Regions from separate parts of the Homo sapiens genome. Here all the other regions are linked to region 1. The links are contacts of gene promoters, found by promoter capture Hi-C in human tissues and cell types (Jung and others, 2019). All regions are on one chromosome and are shown on one strand. Each heading gives the region's core, a stretch centred on a gene start or on the middle of the fragment in contact. The rest is flanking DNA. Distances are from core to core; before and after follow the strand shown.

Region 1 (4,951 bases), core at 1,753-4,252:
ATGATCATGTTGTTGGTGCAACCCCCTCATTCAACCAGTGGGAAAATAGACCCTCCTCCCCAAGGGAATCACCTGCTTAAGGTCTCACAGCTCAGTAGTGGCAGAGTTGGAGCCAGAAACCAAGTATCTTGACTTCCCCTCCACAGACCTTTCCACTATAAGTTCCCTTCTGCCAGTAGGGCAGACTCTAAACTCTTCTGATTACCACTGAAGCTCCTTGAAATGTGACTCTGACACTGGCCTCATCTCCCCACAGCTCTTTTCAGTGGCCTGCACCCATGACACTGAAGTACAGGCCACTCTCCAAATATTCCTTGCACTTGCACATCTCTTGCCTTTGCTCATGCTGTTTTCTTAAACAAGAATGCCCTTCCTCTTTTTACCTGCCTGGCAAACTCCTACTCATCCTTCAAGACCCAACTCCAATTCATCTCTGCAGACCTTCTCCTGGGACTCCTCCTTCCTCACTCCCTAGCCAGTTAGTCTCTCCCTCTTGTTTTTTCCCAAAAGTGCTTTGCACGAAGGCTTATTAGAGCACTATACTGTACTGAAACTCTGTGTGTGTGTGTGTGTGTGTGTATGTGTGTGTGTGTATGTGTATGTGTGTAACTGTGCGCTTTAAGGTAAGAGGGCAGGGTCCTGTGCCTCATACATTTCTTTATTTCCCAGCCCTGATACCTAGCAGGCATTCAAGAATAAATGAATCAATGCCTCTTCTCTAAGAGCATTCCCCCGCTCTGGCACACGCACATACATTCATGAAAACAGTTTACAATATTTAAAAAGCAACCTCCAGGGCAGGGCAAAACAGATTTCATTTGGTCTGGGGAAGGGATGGCTCAAAGAAAAGAAGCCATCTCAGTCAGGTGGGGTGAGTCAGAGGAGGAAGAATTCTAAGCCTTCTTTGGAAGCCCAGATGCTCCCTGCACCTGGACCCCATTCAATCCAAAGGGCAAACATTCTTGGCCTCAAAACACCAGCAATGGCTTTGCAACCCTCTTCCCTGTGTACCTACCCAGGGTGTGGCCACATACACCCACCCACTGCACACACACACACAGTCCAACTCCCCAGTCCCTCAGCCTGTGATCTTGCCGTTCAAGTGTTCCTTTCATGATTCTAATCTTGGCTGTATGCTTGGCTCTGTGTCCTTGAGCACTGCATTTACTTCCTCTGAACCTCATCTATAAGATGGGGATAATGATCCCTGCCCTGCCTACCACACATGAGAACTAGAGGAGACAAGAGATGGGAATGTTTTAGAAATTGCAAACATACAAGATAATTATCAGGCAGGCTGGTCACACTGTTTTCCTTTTCTGTCTCCACATCTTTCCTTTCCCCCCATATTACCAAGAACAACCATCTCTGTGTCTCCTTTCCCACTCCAGGTCTCCTAGCCTCAGAAGCAGCCAGGAGGTTCTTATTATTCTTCTTGATTCCCAGGAACCTCACCTTCTCCAGAAGCCTTCCTGTTTCCTACCCTCTATGATCATTCCCGCAGTCCCTTATCATTGAGGGGTACCATTCTGTAGTCCTGTAGCTGGTGGAGAACACATCAGAGGGGGAATCAGGAGACCTGGGTTCCTGCCCCTACTAGGCCAACACGTCTAGCCGTGCGTTTTGGTTAAGTAACTTTATCACTCTAAGTCTATATCCCTCTAGGCCTCATTTTCCTCATCAGTAAGATGGAGTTTCTTGTCTTGCTTCCCTCTTAGAAGGTATTTTGAGCACTCGCACATTAAGTTTATGGATGTGCTTTGAGACGTATAGACTGAGTGAGGGATGGAGAAGGTGATGGTTATCATCTCAAGGAGTCAAGAAAATCTGAAAGCAGCTTCTAGGCCCCCAGCATGGGTCTTCCTCCATCAGGAACAGACAAAGTGGACGGATGCAAGGAAATAAGGAGGAGCTCACACGTTTACAACATGCCTTTGTAGGTGAAGTGGAGAGAGCCCTGGGCTAGGACTGAGGAAACTTGGGTTCTAATTCTGTTTGGTCTCTGTTGTAACCTTAGGTAAATCATCTCCCCTGGGGCATCAGTTTCCCTATATGCAAATTAGTGGAGAGGATTTTAGGAGGGATACTCTGGTGGGCTTTCACGCAAGAACTAAACTCATTTATTTTCGAGATAAGAGACTCTGAGGTCCAATCCCCCTTTCCCCTTCTGTCCCATGGGGTATGCAGGCAACAGGAGCAGGAGGCCCGTTTTACAAATGGTGGCCCAGGAAAAGCGAGCACAAGGCGCAGAGCTGAGGGATGACTGCCCGGGTTTACACAGCCTGTAAACTAGAACTCAAGTCTCCCGACTCCCAGCCTCGACCTATGTTACTGGCAGCAGAAGATGCTTTTGGGAGTCACCAGGTTTCCCGGGACTAGGTCAGACAGGGTGAAGGACACAGTGAGGTGTAGAGGGAATGGGCAAGTCAGCTCCGCAGAGCCGGTGGCTCCAGCCAAATGAGACTGTGCTGGGTCCTGAAATGTCGTTTCTGCGTGTGCACTGGCTGCCAGCTGCAAGTGTTCGCTTGCACGTCTGTGGGTGTGGAGGAACTTTTCTTGTGGCCGTCTTGAGGGCTGGGAATAACGGCGCAAGTCCCCACGGTTTCCAGACGGGGCGCGCAGAGCCCAGCTCCCTACTCCCACATGCTGCTCCACGATCACTGCGCTCGGGAGGATCGGGGAGGATCCGGGAGGACTAGCTTGGTATTTGCAGCGCCCACCCCTCCCCCACTCCCCCTCGGTTCCACAGTCTCACGGAGAGCGCGCCGTGGCCCTTGGAAGGGAGGCGGGAAGACCCCTCATTTCCACCCCAGGCCGCAGCTCAGCCTTCCCAGCTGGGTGGGTGCCTTACCTGCCTCTCAGCAAGGCTCCGGGGCGCCCGTTTGCTCGCTGGACACGGCGCCCTCTGACCGAGGGTGGCCCAAGCGCTGCGACCCTGTGCATTCCACCAGCCCCGTTCCACTCCGCGGGTGCCCAGCACCGCCCAGCGCGCTCTCTGGCTCTGGGCTCCCACCCGCGCTCGGCTCCCTTTTCCCTCCCCCGGGCGTCCCCTCCCCCTGCCCCGCCCGGGCCCCAGCACACCCACTTCTCCCCGGGCTGGCCTGGAGTGCCTCCGCCCAGCTCCTTGGCCTCCCCCGGCTGTGGGCTCCGACCCTTCCGTCCCCTGCAGCGCCTGCTTCCTGGACCAGAGACCGAAAGCCTCTCGCTCCGCTGGGCCTCAGCAAGCCCAGCATGAGGCCGATCTCCAGGAGTCGGTTTTGCTCCAGTGTGGCTGTGTGGTGGTGGGCGAGTCGCTGCCCCTCACTGGGCCTTGGCCTGGCTGTAAAGTTGGTACAGTTCCTCCATGCATTCTTCACAGGCTTATGGTTGAGGTCAGATGAGACCTTTGAGTCCAAAGTATTAAAACCAAAGGGTCAACAGCAAAATAATATGATTCTTACACAAACTCTTTTCCACACAGGACGCAGAGGCCCAGTTGGAGAAGGGATTTGCCCAGGTAGCAGAGCCCAGACCCAAAATCCACTACACACCCCTCTGTCTCTGAGTAGCACCAGCAAATGTTTCCTCCACCAAGCCTCAAAAGTTCGTGACAGTGCCTGACCAACTTGTGTTCAGCCGCACCTTACTCATCTCTGTCCCAGAACAGTTTATTTTCCCACCACCATGCCCTCACTCAAACTGTTGTTTCCTTGCTGGTGACATTGCAGGCTTCAGAGAACTGGGGCAGCCGGGGCAGCTGAGGAATAAGAGCCAGGAGGCTAGTGGCAGAGGAAGGGACAGTTGCAGAGAATTTCTCCGGGGGACCCTGTGGGGTGCCCTTTTACCAGCTCACTGCCTCAGAATAATTAATAACAGCCTCAGGCCAGCTCTTTCACTCCCTTGCAAAGGTCTGCTCCAGGATATCTGAAGCACATACTCTCAATTACAGAATCCCAGAATATATCTAAGAAGTGCTATCGTTTTAAAAAGACCTACTACAAGGTGGGTATATTGTATATTGTATACAATATACAAGGTGGGTATATTGTACCCACCTTGTTTTGACCCTACTATTCCTTTTTCTCAGTCTGGAGATCACCTCTCAGAAAAGTCATCCTAATCACCTAAGCATGCAATCTCAGTTTCCTTCCTTCCTTCCTTTCTTTCTTCCTTCCTTCCTTCCTTCCTTCCTTCCTTCCTTCCTTTAGACAGGATCTCACTGTGTCACCCAGGCTGGAGTGCAGTGGAGTGATTATGGCTCACAGCAGCCTTGAACTCCTGGGCTCAGGTGATCCTCCTCCCTTAACCTCCTGAGTAACTGGGACACACCACTATGTCTGGCTAATTTTTGTATTTTATAGAAATTGGGTTACTCCATGTTGCCCAGGCTGATCTCGAACTCCTGGGCTCAAGTGACCTGCACACCTCCACCTCCCAAAGTTCTGGGATTACAGGCATGAACCACTGTGCCCATCCTGCAACCTCAGTTTTCAATCTGCCTAAGAATCCCCTGGGGAGCTTGTTTTACTAAGTAGACTTTTGGGCTCCACTCCAGAGGTTCTAATTCAGGAAATCTGGAGTAGAGCCTAGAAATCAGCATTTTCAAACAAGATTTCCAAATGACTCTGATGCAAATGGTTCTTGAGACTAGCCATGAGGAAGCAGTCCTGGCTTGGTCAGGGTTCTTTCTCAGATCCTGCCCACGGCCTTGCATTTACTCTGTAGGACTGTCTATGACAGTTATAGAAAGTAACCATTTGTCCACCCCATCTGCTAGGTTGTGAGTTCTTTGAAGATAGGGATTGTCTTTTGTTCTAATAAAATCTTAGAACCAAAGTCTTAGAATCATATCATCTTAGGGTTCTGGAATGTAAATTGGAAGAACTCTCAAGAGTTTCCTAGTCAAATCCCTCATGAGCCTAACAGATTCTCCCATTTCTTTATTTTTGGAAACATATCACCCAGGCTGGAG
Region 2 (4,951 bases), core at 1,428-3,927, 300 kb before region 1:
AAAATATATTTTTACCTGGAGTTCTCCAAGTTTCTTAGACGTTGATGAAACAATGGTAAAAAATCCATTGATTTGATGGGTTGGAGAAAGTTGAGCTAGTCCATTGATCTGAACTCTACCAATTGGAAGACCATCAAGTTTGGTGATTACTTCCAGCACCAGCACAGCCATATCTAACCAGAAACAATTACAACATGGATATTTTTCATTTACTTTTATTTTCTTTTTTAAGACGTGGGTAGAGGGGTATATGCGGAAAAGCTTTCTAACTTGAAAAAAAATATTTTATGTTGGATAACACCATTGCATTGGTGAAAGTGAGGGGAATTAGGTACTTTAATAAGTTGCTAATAGGATGGTTAACTGGAAAGCAATTCAGCAATAACTCAAAAAAGTACAAAAGCACATTCCTTTTTCCATGAAGTTCTACTTTTTTTTTTTTTTTTTTTTTCTTGAGACAGGGTCTCTGTCGCCCAGGCTGGAGTGCACTGGCACAATCATAGTTCACTGCAACCTCGAACTCCAGGACTCAAGTGATTCTCCCATCCTAGCCTCACAAGTAGCTGAGACTAGAGGCACACGCCACCACACTGGGGTAATTTTTTTTATTTTTGTAGAGACAAGGTCTCACTGTGTTGCCCAGGCTGGTCTCAAACTCCTGGCCTCAAGTGATCCCCTGATCTTGGCCTCCCAAAGTACTGGGATTACAAGTATGAGGCACCAAGGCTAGCCTACTCCTTAAACTTTATTTTACAAGCTGTAAATTGATCTATGTACCAGAATATTTAATAAAATGTGTTTTTTTAATAATGGCAAAATGGTGAAAAATAAAGTAATAAAAAGAATATAAGTAGCTCTATACTGATATGGAACAACATCCAAGATGAATTGCTAAGTAGAAAAAAAAGTGCTGACTGTATATGTATATAATCTGTGTAAATAAAAGAAATTATGCAAAGAGCTTTTATTAGTATAGAATTTATTTTATAAGTAAATATATTCTTGTGTAAAGATACACAAGAGACTGGTAACCTTTCATACCTTTAAAATGTTTTACCATGTGCATGTATTTCCTAATGAAAAAAGTGACACAACTGATAGAAAATACAACTGATTTAAAAACTATAACAGAGATAACAAAACTATCTGGAAAAAGTAATTTAACTTAAAAAAGTATTTTAATTTCAAATAATCACTTATCATACCATTCTGGGGGTAGAGGAGTATGAACCCAAGATCAAAAGAACAATAAAGATTCACAGAACAACAACAAATACCACACACTGAGGAAAAAATAAATCAACTGACCAAAAATATTTAGCATAGCAAGTATTTGATAAGAAAAATACCCTTAAAAGAGTATTGTTAAATGTATTTGCCAATAACTCAGGCTTTGGTTTTGACACACAGAGCAACAAATCTCAGTTTTCATTCTCACCATTTCTAGTTTTGAATTGACAAAGGATTGCCCTTGCACAGCTGCAAGGGTTGGTCCCTGCCTCCCAGGAGTATCTAATTGCATACTCTTGGGTTATATCTGGACCACTGAGCTATTGAGAGCACTTGGAACCAAGAGAAATGAAAATAAACTTCTCAACTATACTCTTTGGTCACTTAGACTAATACCTTCATGCCCAGAGGAGAAGAAATATAATGTATGCATAAGGAATCTCAGATCATTTCAGAACAGTTTAACTTCTGGTATTTTCTTAACCAAAGTTGAGAAAATGGTTCGTTTTCAGCATTTGTTAATACTGTAGTGAAAAGCATGTAGGAATTATTATTAGAAGACTTGTGATTGTGTTCTGACTGCAATATTCACAAGCTATTTCTGTATAAGCCATGGTTGTCTGTAAAGTAGGCTCATAATATTCGCATCACTGCTGTTCTGAGGAACTGGGGTTGCTGCAAGCAGAACACTAGTACAGTCCAGTGTCTTCCCACATGGTAGTTGCTGAATGGTTGGTAAATGACTTTAGGCAAATTACTTGACATATCATAGTCCCTGTGTAACAACTTGATATGGTTTGGCTGTGTCCCCATCCAAATCTCATCTTGAATTGTAATTCCCATAATCCCCATGTGTCATGGGAAGGACCGGGGGAGATAACTGAATCACAAGTGCGGTTCTCCTTATCCTGTTCTCATGATAGTGAGTTAGCTCTCACGAGATCTGATGGTTTTATAAGGGGCTTCCTGCTTTGCTGGGCACTCATTTTTCTCTCTCCTGCTGCCATGTGAAGGACGTGTTTGCTTCCCCTTCTGCCATGATTGTAAGTTTCCTGAGGCCTCCCCAGCCATGTGGAACTGTGAGTCAATTAAACATCTTTTCTTTATAAATTACCCAGTTTCAGGTATGTCTTTATAGCAGCATGAGAATGGACTAATACACCACTCATGGGGGTTATCTGAAAGTCATATGAGCAAATAGATATAAAAGTGCTTTGTAGACTATAAAATGATGTACACATGAAGAATAAGGGAAATGGACTAACATGTATTCATTGGCTATTTACTAACAGCCAGGGTCTTCCACATCTCATTAATTCTCTTAACAACTCTACGATACTGGTGTTTCTGTCTTCATTTGGGGATAAAAGAGGCTCCGCAAAGTCATGTATATTCCTAGGTTCACCCAGCTTTAAATTGACAGAACTGGGCTAAAACTCAGTTCTATCCAATTATAAGTCCACTACACTTAATTATAAGTCCACTACACTATTCATCACTTCTAGGACAAAAAGCTTAATTCTTAGTAGACTTCTGACCTTTATACTTCACTTGTTGTGGAATTAGAATCCCTACTGTCCAGCACTATTCCTACTCCGATTTGTCTTTCACATTCCTACTAACTGAATCCTATCTGATCAAAGACAGGTAAAAATCACGTAGTGTAGCCATAATTTTCTCAGTTTCTACTCTAGTAGTTCCATGCTCCAAACATTTTCATGGCTGCTATTTTCTGCAACAGAATAAAACGTAAAGGAAGAAAGATGTAAGAGTATGAGGCATATCTCAGAATCCTATAATCCTTCTATTTCCTAAGGCAGTATAATACAATAGAAGTATCAATAATTTCGGAGTCAAGTGCCTCCCTGAATTTAGGGTTGGTGCCAGGGTAACCTTGGGTTAGTTACTTTTAACTCTTTGAACCTCAAATTCGTCACTCAGAAAATCAGGATAATACCCGTTGCAAATGTACAGGGCCTCAGAGCATGCTTTCTAGTGCTCTGCAGAGGCTTCATCTTATTTCTCCTACTGTATTTTCACTTTCTGTAAACAAAAAGTTATGAAGATTTAAAATGTAAAGGTTTTCTCATTAGTTAAACAGAAATCTGTACTTAACATGTTTTTGCAATTGCCTTAACTTCTGTTTAGAATAAGGTAAAATAGATATGAAGAAAGTGGCCAGGCATGGTGGCTCACCTGTAATCCCAGCACTTTGGGAGGCCAAGGCAGGAGGATTGCTTGGGTATGGAAGTTTGACACCAGCCTGGGGAACAACAATGAGACCTCATCTCCACAAAAAATACAAAAATTAGGTGAGTGTCGTGGCATGTGCTTATATTCCCAGTTGCTCAGGAGGCTGAGGTGGGAAGATTGCTTGAACCCAGGAGGTTGAGGCTACAGTGAACTGTGTTTGCATCGCTGCACTCCAGCCCGGCTGTCTGAGAGAGACCTTTTCTCAAAAATAAAATAAAATAAAATAGATACGAAGAAATAAATAAAATGATTTTAAACATCAAATAAGATGATAGACTTGAAAGTATTTCAAAAATTGTAAAATGTGATACATTTCCTCTTCTTTTTTTATATGTTATTTTTATCTGAGGAACTCATATAATCGTTCTTACTACCTCTCTCCAGCCTAGAAAAAAAGAGCAACCCCATCTCATTTCAAATGTTAATTCTGGCACAGCCTATATATTTCACTCATTTGTAAATCTCTTCATGCAATAGTGACTTCTCCTTTTTTGACTGATACAGTATCCTAATTACAAGGTTATTTTGCACTTGTCTTAATACCTTAAGTGTAATAAAAATGGCTTGAGAAAAAAATATGGTTCATGCTAATATGTGACAACATATTAATTAGTTTACTTTTTGCATTTTGTATTAAGTGAAATATGTACACAAAAGAGTAAATAAAATAATAATAATGCGAATACCTACCACACAGCTTAAGAAATAGCATACTTTTTCCAAGTTTTTGGTTAGAGCACATACTTTTGTGAACTAATATTTGATGTCTTATCTCTTCATTTTCTGTCATTTTCTTTCTTTTTTAGAAACAGGGTCTCACTCTGTCACCCAGGCTGGAGTACAGCGGCATGAACATGGCTCACTGCAGCCTCGACTTCCTGGGCTCAAGTGATTTCTCTCACCTCAGCCTCCCAAGTAGCTGGGACTACAGGTGTGCACCACCATGCCCAGCTAATTAAAAAAATTTTTTTTTGTAGAAACAGGGTCTTGCTATGCATGTGGAATCTAATTTTTTTGTAGAAACAGGGTTTTACCCAGGCTGGTCTTGAACTCTTGGCCTCAAGTGATCTTCCTGCCTCAGCCACCAAAGTATTGGGATTACAGGCGTGAGCCACCACGTTCAGCCTCTTATCGCTTCATTTTCTAAAAAACACATCATGTCGGCCGGGTGCGGTGGCTCACACCTGTAATCCCAGCACTTTGGGAGGCTGAGGCGAGCAGATCGTGAGATCAGGAGATTGAGACCATCCTGGCTAACACGGTGAAACCCCATCTCTACTAAAAATATAAAAAATTAGCTGGGTGTCGTGGCGGGCACCTGTAGTCCCAGCTACTCAGGAGGCTGAGGCAGGAGAATGGCGTGAACCCAGGAAGTGGGAGGCGGAGCTTGCAGTGAGCCAAGATTGCGCCACTGCACTCCAGCCTGGGCAACAGAGTGAGACTCCGTCTTAAAAAAAAAAAAAAAAAA
Region 3 (4,951 bases), core at 778-3,277, 290 kb after region 1:
AAAGGTTGTACATTATACACACTGTTCTGTAACTTGCTTTTTTTTTGGTTTAAGAATACATCATCAAAGTCCACAGCAGTATGTTGTATGGAATTTTACTGAGTGGATATAGCATAATTAACCACCTATTGGTGGACATTTTGATTGTTTCCTGTCTTTTGCTATTATAAATAATTGTTTATAAAATCATTATGTAAATGCATGTGTGCATTTTTATGGAGAAGTCACCAGTAGCTTTCACCAGAATCTGAACCATTGTTTTATTTTATTTATTAATTAATTAATTTATTTTTTGAGACAGAGTCTTGCTCTGTTGCCCAGGCTGGAGTGCAATGGCATGATCTCGGTTCACCGCAACCTCCGCCTCACCGGTTCAAGCGATTCTCCTGTCTCCATCTCCCGAGTAGCTGGGATTACAGGTGTGCGCCACCACGCCCGGCTAATTTTGTATTTTTAGTAGAGACGGGGTTTCTCCATGTTGATCAGGCTGGTCTCAAACTCCTGATCTCAGGTGATCCACCCACCTCGGCCTCCCAAAGTGCTGGGATTACAGGCGGTGAGCCACCGCGCCCAGCCTTGAACCATTGTTTTAATCTATGTCTCTCATTCTACAGAAGAGAAAACTGAGGCCCAGAACAGATAAGAGAGTAAGAGTTTACATGAGTTGATAGTAGATGAAAAAGGGTCAACAGAAACAGCCTAATTCACAGTGAAATGTTCATAATAGCTTTAATAAGGAAAACTAATAATACCAGTTTTATAAATATTTACATTGTGCTTTTATGAGTGGAAACAGCAACAGGATTACTAGGTTGGCACAAAAGTAATTATGGTTTTTGCCATAACTTTCAATGGCAAAAACAGCAATTACTTTTGTACCAGCCTAATAGCAATTTTAGTAATATTCAGAGATATATTGCTTAGTTGTATTCTCATCACATAGTTGGATCAATTGATAAAGGAAACATCAGGCCTGCTGGAAATGAAATTTTGTAGTAAATGCACTGGTATTTAAGTGACGTTCTTAATTTTTTTTTTATTTTGTTGAAGTCCAGTGCCTCTTTAGGAATTGCTTTGTGGAAAAAGTGTAAAGAGTTTGTGTTTTCTTGAAAATTTTGGTTGCACTGGTGACATTTTTGTTCTTTGCCTGCTTTTTTGGCAAGCTTTAAGGTTCAGAACCTTAATGACCCCTGTGTACATGTTTTATTTAATTCTTTTATGCATTCACGGTTTGCTTTTGGATATAGTATCAGTTTTTGTTGATTTGTGAAACTGTGTGTGTAAAGGCTACATCAGTGATCATTTCAAAATGAACTCAGAGTTCAACTTCATATTCTTTGAGGATCTGCAACTCGTATATATTGACATATTAAATATTTGGACCATTTTGAGCAATATTCAGGAATTATGTAATATGTGTCTACTCTGTGCCAGGTCTTTGGGAAACATTAGTGAATGAAATATTAAAGATCTCTCTCTCTCATGGAGCTTATATTCTAAATTTAGAGACATTCCTTATCTGTTGATTTAAAAAACATACTTACCATACAGGCTTACATAGGTAGATTTTGAACTATACATTGCAGCCACACTTAAGCATCATTTAAAAATGATTAATGAATTTTAAGAATTCATTTAGTCTGTTTGAAATCAAGGATGGTTATTCCAAATCATACTGCTTTTAGATTTGAAACCGAGACCTTTTTACTTTTTAGGATTCTTTTTCTTCGGCTATGGGTAATGACTGAAGAAAAGCTAGACAAAGGCTGGTGAATCTTTTAAATTGGCAGTTTAAATTTTTTTATCTTCGTGGTGTTAAAAGTGCTTTTCAGAAATTGAATAGATAGGCCAGGCGCGGTGGCTCACATCTGTAATCCCAGCACTTTGAGAAGCAGAGGTGGGCGGATCAGTTGTGGCCAGGAGTTTGAGACCAGCCTGGCCAACATGGGGAAACCCTGTCTTTACTAAAAACACAAGAATTAGCCGGACGTGGTGGTGCACGCTTATAGTCCCAGCTACCGGGAGGCTGAGGCAGGAGATTCGCTTCAACCCGGGAGGTAGAGGTTGCAGTGAGCCGAGATTGCGCCACTGCACTCCAGTCTGGGCGACAGAGCGAGACTCTCTCTGAAAAACAAATAAACAAAACACGAAAATTGAATAGATAAACAATTGAATAGTGCCTTACTTATCCCTTCTCATCCCATCTCAACTTCCCTGTTCACTTAGGGTTAACATTTCTGCATTTAAAAAATTTCCCCTTTCTGTGAAAAGCAAGTAGTTCTGGTTTATTACTCAGTTGACAGACAATGTTTGCTATGTGTGCAGCCTAAATTACATTTAGGACTAATGAATAATGAAACCATGTGATTGTAGTGCAAGAGGACAGGAATTCCCTAGTCTGTAAGGATTTGTTTAAAATATGTAAAATGACTCATTTCTTTATCCTTAATGACACATATCCGAGAATTTGAGAGTGTCCTTATGTGTTATACCAATACAGGAAACATTTGCCTTGTGCTAAGATGTTTTTTAAAGCTCTTGATGAGATTACATGCACTCTACCAACTAAACAGTAATTACTATTGAAGAATAGCTCCAATGTATGAATTCAGAATTGAACAGCAGGAATTTAGGAGGTATTTGTTTATTCATATTTTCACTCCCTGTCTTCTAGTTAATCCTGAAAGAGTTGCCTACCTTGAATTAATTTGTATCTGAGTTGGCTTGAGTATATGATGTAGGATATGTTTGTTAAATTTCATTCCACTAATTCAGTGAGCATTTTGAGGGGCACACATTGTGCAAGATGATGCAATAAAAAAAGATGAATAAGACATGGTACCTTTTCTTTAAGACTCCACAGTGTGGTTGGGGAAACACATACTCAAATAACAATACAACGTGTTAAGTGAGGTAAACAGACAATGCTAACAGAGTAGAGGAATGGGCTGACTGACAATTTGCAGGAAGCCTGAGGAAGGCATTTGAATTGTATGTTGAAGAAAGAGTAGGAATTCACCAGATGAGGAAGGAGGGGATGTCCATTCCAGGTAGAAGAGCCTGCATGTAGAAAGGCTTGAAGGTGCTTGGGATGTTCAGGGACTGGCAAAAAGCTAAATATAGGTGGAGTGTGGACTGGAGTGGGGAAGTAGAGAAGAGACTGAAGTTAGATCATGAAGGCCATTGTGTATTAGGGTAAAAGAATTTTGGACTTTATCCTATAAAGCTCTTAAAGATTTTTAAGTGGTGGAATAACATAATCATACTGTGCTTTAGAAAGACAATATATATTGGTTGGAAGAGGAAAGATGTGAGTAGAAACTGGAGGTGGGGAGTCGTTAGGGGACTGTTTTAGTAGTTCAGGCAAGCGACGAAGAGGGCCTGGACTAAAGCATTGGCTGTGGCAGTGTTAACTTCAGTCATTCATTAATTTAGTAACCATTTGAGGGTCTTCTGTGTGCTAGGTCTAGGCACTAGAGCTGCAAATAGAGGTAAAGCATGGTTCTGTCCCAAAGTGTAGTTGGGAAGATTGGGATGTAAATATGCAACTGAAATGTGGTATTATAAGTATTATAATAGCTGTTATGCAAGATATAATTGTAGAAGGCAGTATAGTATATATTAATAGAGCAGGCTAATAGAGGAAAACCTGGAGACAGACTACCTGGGTTCAAATTCTAGCTTTGCTATTTATAGCTGTATGTTATTGGATACTCTCTGTGTCTTAGTTTCTTCATTTGGAAAATGGGAATAGTAATAGTATTAAAATCATAAGGTTGTTGTTAAAGACTAAATGAATTATTACAATGCTTGGTATATGAAGAGCTAGGTCAACAAATGTAAGGTATTTTCACAAAGAAGATAATCTAGTTTGGATGGGTCAGGAATGGCTTCAGTGAATGCCAGACATTTGACCATCAGTATTCATTAGGTGGATGAGGTCAGAATAAAGATGAGAGAGGGAAATAGTACATTTAAAGGCATAGGAACATGAAACAAGGAGCGTTCTAGGGATTGTAAACAGAAGTGGTTAGAGTATAGAGTGCATGTGGGAGAGTGGAAGCATGTGGGACTGCAGAAATTGGCAGTTGCTGAATAATAGTGGACTTTGAGTGCCATGCTAAGGAATGAGGATCCACTGAGGAGTTTCAAAGAGGAATTCATCTTTGAACTTTAGAGAGATCACTCCCATGGGAGTGTTGTAGCAAATAGATTGGAGAGCCCAAATTCTCTTTTTAGCAAGATGGCTAAAACTGACACAAATACTCAGAAAAACTGCATAATAAAGAACGGCAATTCTTTTATTTATTTATTTTTATTATACTTTAAGTTTTAGGGTACATGTGCACATTGTGCAGGTTAGTTACATATGTATACATGTGCCATGCTGGTGCGCTGCACCCACTAACTCGTCATCTAGCATTAGGTATATCTCCCAATGCTATCCCTCCCCCCTCCCCCCACCCCACCACAGTCCCCAGAGTGTGATAGTCCCCTTCCTGTGTCCATGTGATCTCATTGTTCAATTCCCACCTATGAGTGAGAATATGCGGTGTTTGGTTTTTTGTTCTTGCGATAGTTTACTGAGAATGATGGTTTCCAGTTTCATCCATGTCCCTACAAAGGACATGAACTCATCATTTTTTATGGCTGCATAGTATTCCATGGTGTATATGTGCCACATTTTCTTAATCCAGTCTATCATTGTTGGACATTTGGGTTGGTTCCAAGTCTTTGCTATTGTGAATAATGCCGCAGTAAACATACGTGTGCATGTGTCTTTATAGCAGCATGATTTATAGTCCTTTGAGTATATACCCAGTAATGGGATGGCTGGGTCAAATGGTATTTCTAGTTCTAGATCCCTGAGGAATCGCCACACTGACTTCCACAATGGTTGAACTAGTTTACAGTCCCACCAACAGTGTAAAAGTGTTCCTATTTCTCCACA

Evidence for each region. Contacts are between HindIII fragments. The study calls those that stand out against the background at their distance.
Region 2: a contact is called between a fragment that was not itself captured here and the fragment with the promoter of KCNE3 in region 1, in 1 of the 25 tissues and cell types used here (dorsolateral prefrontal cortex).
Region 3: a fragment that was not itself captured here is called in contact with the fragment with the promoter of KCNE3 in region 1 in 1 of the 25 tissues and cell types used here (spleen).

The regions. Positions count from the first base shown.
Region 1 is chr11:74,464,547-74,469,497 of GRCh38, forward strand. It overlaps KCNE3 (potassium voltage-gated channel subfamily E regulatory subunit 3), which reads right to left and starts at 3,003. Exons shown (of 3, transcript NM_005472.5): 1 at 2,852-3,003. The HindIII fragment of the contact is 14,037 bases long and covers 1-4,951 here.
Region 2 is chr11:74,161,384-74,166,334 of GRCh38, forward strand. C2CD3 (C2 domain containing 3 centriole elongation regulator) reads right to left here. Exons shown (of 33, transcript NM_001286577.2): 3 at 16-173. Among named protein-coding and RNA genes, the nearest start is that of C2CD3, 7.1 kb to the right of the region's middle. The HindIII fragment of the contact is 6,904 bases long and covers 1-4,951 here.
Region 3 is chr11:74,752,693-74,757,643 of GRCh38, forward strand. All of the region lies in intron 1 of RNF169 (ring finger protein 169), which reads left to right. Among named protein-coding and RNA genes, the nearest start is that of RNF169, 6.3 kb to the left of the region's middle. RefSeq lists enhancers at 2,058-2,637, 2,637-3,258. The HindIII fragment of the contact is 4,097 bases long and covers 1-4,076 here.